2 separate regions of the Homo sapiens genome follow, and region 1 is linked to region 2. The links are contacts of gene promoters, found by promoter capture Hi-C in blood cells and fetal thymus (Javierre and others, 2016). All regions are on one chromosome and are shown on one strand. The core of a region is centred on a gene start or on the middle of the fragment in contact, and the rest is flanking DNA. Distances in the headings are between cores, read along the strand shown. Region 1 overlaps RPTOR (regulatory associated protein of MTOR complex 1). Region 2 holds the start of RPTOR (regulatory associated protein of MTOR complex 1).

Region 1 (2,700 bases), core at 71-2,570, 180 kb after region 2:
AACGTGGACACTGCACCTCTGACCACATCATGCTCCGAGAACGTGGACGCTGCACCTCTGACCACATCATGCTCCGAGAACGTGGACGCTGCACCTCTGACCGCATCATGCTCCGAGAACGTGGACGCTGCACCTCTGATCATGTCACACTCCAAGATCATGGACATTGCACTTCTGATCATGTCATGCTCTGAGAACATGGACGCTGCACCTCTGATCATGTCACGCTTCAAGAACGTGAACACTGCACCTCTGACCACGTCACGCCCCGAGAACGTGGACGCTGCACCTCTGACCACATCATGCTCTGAGAACGTGGACGCTGCACCTCTGATCATGTCACACTCCAAGATCATGGACATTGCACTTCTGATCATGTCATGCTCCAAGAACGTGGACGCTGCACCTCTGACCATGTCGCGCTGGCCAGAATTTGGCTGCAGGACAGACTTCACTGGAAAGGAAACTGGGCCATGTGCTCAGCTACAACTGCTTTAGAAGAGAGAGAAAATCAGATATTAGCCTAGCAGTCTCTACCACACTGGCATTTAGATAATTTTCAGCTTTTTTTTTTACCAGTCAAAACATCTCATGTACAAATGCAAGTATTTCTATAGGATGGATATCTAGAAGTAGTCAGAAGGAATGTGCCTTTAAAATTTTTGTTAAGTACTTCCCAATTGCCTTCCATACAAGCTTCATTAATTTACATTCCCACCATTGATGGATGAGTGCCCTGCATCCTCCCACAATGGGGCATTATTCACATTTTATCCTGCTTTCCACTTTGCTGAATAAAAACAGAATGGATGAATGAATGGATGGGCGGATGGATGGATGGATGAATGGATGGATGGATCGATAGGTAGATAGATAGATTCTCATTGTAATTTGCATTTCTAATAAAGAGCATGAAACTTAGAATCATTTTTGATTCATTTTTCTTCTGTGAATTGCCTGTTTGTATGTTTTGCCTGTTTGTTTTCGTTTTGTCCCTTGTTGATCTGCAGCAGAAGTTTATATAGACACATCTAAAAAATTCTCTGTCATGTACTGTGTACCTCCTTTCTTCTAAAATTGCTAGTCATTGATATGTCTTTATTAGAATTATAGATTTTTTTATCTTACTGTATCAGTCAGTCTCAAGACTTATTAGGTTTTGTGACTTGCTTAATTAAGGCCTTTCATATGCCAAAATAAATGAAAATTTTCCTGTGCTTTTACATTTAGGTTTTCAGTCCACTCTGGGGTGTGTGTGTGTGTGTGTGTGTGTGTAATCTCAGATAGCAAAATACCAAATGGCTGGTTAGAGTTTCCAGCATCAGTTATTGAATTGTTAATTCCTTCTTTGCAGATTTAAAATGCTGTCCTCATTAGAGTTACGTATGTGGGTCTATTTCTGGACTCTCTCTTTTCTGTTGATTTGTTTGTCTCCCTCACTAATACCATCCTGTAATTACCATAGATTTATAGTATCTTTAATATCTGGCAGTGTGAGTCCCTATTCATTATTCTTTATTAATTTTTTTTTGCTCTTGTGCTTTTTTTTTTCTCTGTACTATATAATCATCTTGTTAAATTCCGTGAATGGAAAAAACCCAGAAGGTATTTTGATTAGGCTTGGACTGACTTTCTGGATTCATTAGGCAAGAATTGACATCTCTAGATCCTTCAGTGGGTTTATTTACAGAGAGCATTTCCAGGTGTTCTATTATAGAGCAGTGATTATAAACAGTCCACCAAACGCGGACAGTTTTAACAACATGTTTGGCAGAGCACAGGTAGAATGGGGTCCTGCCCACGATGATGTACGTGTCTCCACACACCCCCCACACATCTGCGTCGTTGGTATACTGTATCATCATGTCTGAGATATAACTTACGTCTGAGATGTAGCTGATGTCTGAAATGTAACTTTTGTCTGCTTCTTTGCTGTGCACGGACAAAGCTTCTGCAGGCTTCCTGCACGCCATACTTCCCCAGGCTTTGCTGGATCTGGCCTTCTGTCCCTTTCCTCTTGAGTTATAAACAATCCTGTAGGCAGTACCAGCGGCAGGATATGTGGCTTAGCTGCTAAGAAATAAACTCACTTTTACTGTGACTTTGATTTTTGCCAATTTCTGGGAATTTGATTTCTGCCACAGCTTCACTACTTACACTCTTGATGTCCAAGGAAAGGTAAATAATGAACGTGTTCTGTGGAGAAGAATTCCTTAAAAATGTTAGCTTTGCGTTCGGATTGTAAGTGTTTCTCAAGTGAGATGAGAACATTCTCCTCTGCATTTACCAGAATCACTAGTGTCTGTTCAGGCGCTGAACAGTATGGTGTGTTCTGAAAAATGTTTCACTCAGCAGATTAGTGTTACTAGGTTATTGTTCTGTGACTGAAATAAATTTATACAGCCAAACCCACTTATACCCCTTAAGTATGATCTTTCAAAAGTCATCTCAATGACAAAGTGCTTATGGACCTCTCTGAAATTAAAGGGACAGTGGCATGCAAATTTGAGGACCCGGCCAACTCTTAGAGCTCCCCTCCCTTGTAAATGATGTGTGTGTTGTGTTATATAAACCCAGAGATGTGACAGAGTTAAAGGACAAATGGAGACACGGAGTGAAGAGCACGTGTGTGAGACAGCTGTGGGTCCATGGAGGGAGGCCCCGCGGCGGGAACTGAGGCAGCCATGGGGTACATGAGGG
Region 2 (2,700 bases), core at 199-2,698:
GATGGTCTTGAACTCCTGACCTCATGATCCACCCACCTCAGCCTCCCAAAGTGCTGGGATTACAGGCGTGCACCACCACGCCTGGCCTCGTTTTATTCTTATTTATTTATTTATTTATTTATTTATTTTTGAGATGGAATCTCACTCTGTCACCCAGGCTGGAATGCAGTGGTGTAATCTCGGCTCACTGCAACCTCTGCCTCCCAGGTTCCAGCTCTTCTCCTGCCTCAGCCTCCCGAGCAGCTGAGACTACAGACGCACGCCACCACGCCCAGCTAATTTTTGTATTTTTATTAGAGACGGCGTTTCACCATGTTGGCCAGGCTGGTCTCGAACTCCTGAACTCGTGATCCACCCTCCTCGGCTTCCCAAAGGGCTAGGATTATAGGCGTGAGCCACGGTGCCCTGCCTACATTTGGTTTTATAGTCCACCTTACACAGTTCTCTATACATTGTAAATGAGCCAAATTTCCTGAATTGAAAAAGAGAGTCACACAAGAGGCTTGCCTCCACGCACAGACATGTAGTTTTAGATGTCTGCACGTGAAGCTATATCAAAATAAGAATAAACTACTGCTACCAAGAAGTGGGAAAAAAATTTAAAAAGGATAAACTGCTCAGAAAACGAAACAGATTAAACAAAAAATTGTATTAGATGAAATTTTTTTTCATCGAATCTTGCTCCAGACTCTTCTTCTGTTGCTTCAGACCCTTCTTCATCTGAAGAGTCTTGCTCTGTCTCCCAGGCTGGAGTGCAGTGGCACGATCTTGGCCCACTGCAACCTCCGCCTCCCGGGTTCAAGCAATTCTCCTGCCTCAGCCTCCTGAGTAGCTGGGATTACAGGCGCGCACCACCACGCCCAGCTAATTTGTGTATTTTTAGTAGGGACGGGGTTTCACCATGTTGGCCAGGCTGGTCTCGATCTCTTGACCTCGTGATCTGCCCGCTTCGGCCTCCCAAAGTGCTGGGATTACAGGCGTGAGCCACGGCGCCCGGCCTTTCACTTGGTTCTCTATGAAAAAATTAAAGAGAAAATCTGATTGACACTGTGGAGGACACTACACTCCAAAAAAAAAAGTACTATATTTTCTAATATTATCAGTGCTTTTTAATATTTTCTAATATTATCAGTGAAGCTTTTGCCGCTTTTTCAAAATCTGGAAGAAACAAGGCGGTTGATTCCTTTAATTTCAGGAGCATGTAACTTCATTTATAATGACAATGTTTTTGAAAAAATAAATTAAACCGACAGTTTCATTTGTAGGATTGACTTTAATAACACGCCTCTACTGAACAAATGGCGATTAACTGGGGAAAACGGAATTATGGTAACCGAGGTAACGGGGTCGGGGACTCTTTCTCCTTCGCTGCATGCTGGGTGGCGGGGAGAGACCGCTCTGAGGAGGTTTGGTCTGTCGGCCACGCCGTAGGCCGCGGTGCATTCTGGGTCCTGGCAATATGGCGTCCTCCTTGATGGGCTGATGAGATGAGTTTCACTGTAGCTCCAAACCAGAGGGCAAAGCTCCCATGACCCAATAAGCCCACATTGTCCCTTTCCTCCGTGGTTCCGTGTCGCCCGTTTCTCAGGACTCGTTCTCAGGCAGGAGAGAGCCTCGGGGCTGAAGGCCAGGACCAGCCAGGCCGCGCGGACCTGAGGTTGAGGAACCGGGTGCAGGCGAGCACGATGGGCCGGTCGTGGCTCTGGTTGCAGCAGCTCAGACGAGTGCGGGACCCGCAGGGCTGAGAGTGGCTGGAGGAGACCCAGGGCCCTTTGAACCCGATCCCTTGGCCGGAGACCTCAGCCCAGTCGGCCCAGTGGGCGAACCGGCACCAAGAGCGGCCTGCCTGTCTTCGGAACTGCTGAGGCGGTGGAGGCCGAGAGCAGGGTCATCGTGAGGCCTGAAGTCTCTTACGCTTTTGGCAGCTCCCCTCGCAGCCCCTCTGGAAACGTACAGCCTCAGGAGCAGCCAGTGGCTTGGGACCTGGGGTGGTGTGTGTCTGCGGAGCTTCTTGGGCTGCCCCATTTCCTAGCGGCCCCCACCTCCCCACTTCCCGCTCAGAGTTAGAGATAAGGATCTCAGACTTTTGCCTGAGTAAGGGTCTCCGCACTCTTTATCCATTTGGTTTTCGATTTCCCGTTTTTGTTTCTTATTTCACCAATTCTGGTACACGCTAGTTTTTAAGGCTGGAGGTTCTCGAGCGCTTGCTGCCAAGGACTCCCCCACCCCCTCCCCCACTGATGGAGTCCGAAATGCTGCAATCGCCTCTTCTGGGCCTGGGGGAGGAAGATGAGGCTGATCTTACAGACTGGAACCTACCTTTGGCTTTTATGAAAAAGAGGCACTGTGAGAAAATTGAAGGCTCCAAATCCTTAGCTCAGAGCTGGAGGATGAAGGATCGGGTAAGTGGATTCTGAAGGCACCCCTTGAACTTGGTAGTTTCCCCAACAAAGAAAGTTTACAGCCCGAAAAGTGTCCTTGGGAAAGCGCCGACATTTCCCCCTAGCCACACGTTGTAAGTCAACTAGAAAGCAAAAGCCATTTCAGACTGCAGTTTTTGGTTGAAAATGGAAAATGCTGTTTTGGTTAGTCATTATTCACTGGGTAGTGTTAATTCAATTCCAACTAAGTTCTAATTCAGATAATAAAAGTTAAGCAAATTTGAAAATAGAGCATTGCGAGTATTTACATGCTCTTTGG

Evidence for each region. The method cuts DNA at HindIII sites, captures the fragments that hold promoters and counts their contacts. A CHiCAGO score of 5 or more calls a contact.
Region 1: a fragment that was not itself captured here is called in contact with the fragment with the promoter of RPTOR in region 2 in 1 of 17 cell types (naive CD4 T cells); the score reaches 5.0 in naive CD4 T cells.

Annotation. Positions count from the first base shown.
Region 1 is chr17:80,727,198-80,729,897 of GRCh38, forward strand. The region is part of intron 4 of RPTOR (regulatory associated protein of MTOR complex 1); the gene reads left to right. Among named protein-coding and RNA genes, the nearest start is that of RPTOR, 180 kb to the left of the region's middle. The HindIII fragment of the contact is 1,252 bases long and covers 695-1,946 here.
Region 2 is chr17:80,543,390-80,546,089 of GRCh38, forward strand. It overlaps RPTOR (regulatory associated protein of MTOR complex 1), which reads left to right and starts at 1,449. Exons shown (of 34, transcript NM_020761.3): 1 at 1,449-2,402. The coding sequence starts at 2,241. RefSeq lists enhancers at 1,143-1,969, 1,303-1,662, 1,943-2,042, 1,970-2,700. The HindIII fragment of the contact is 2,750 bases long and covers 1,136-2,700 here.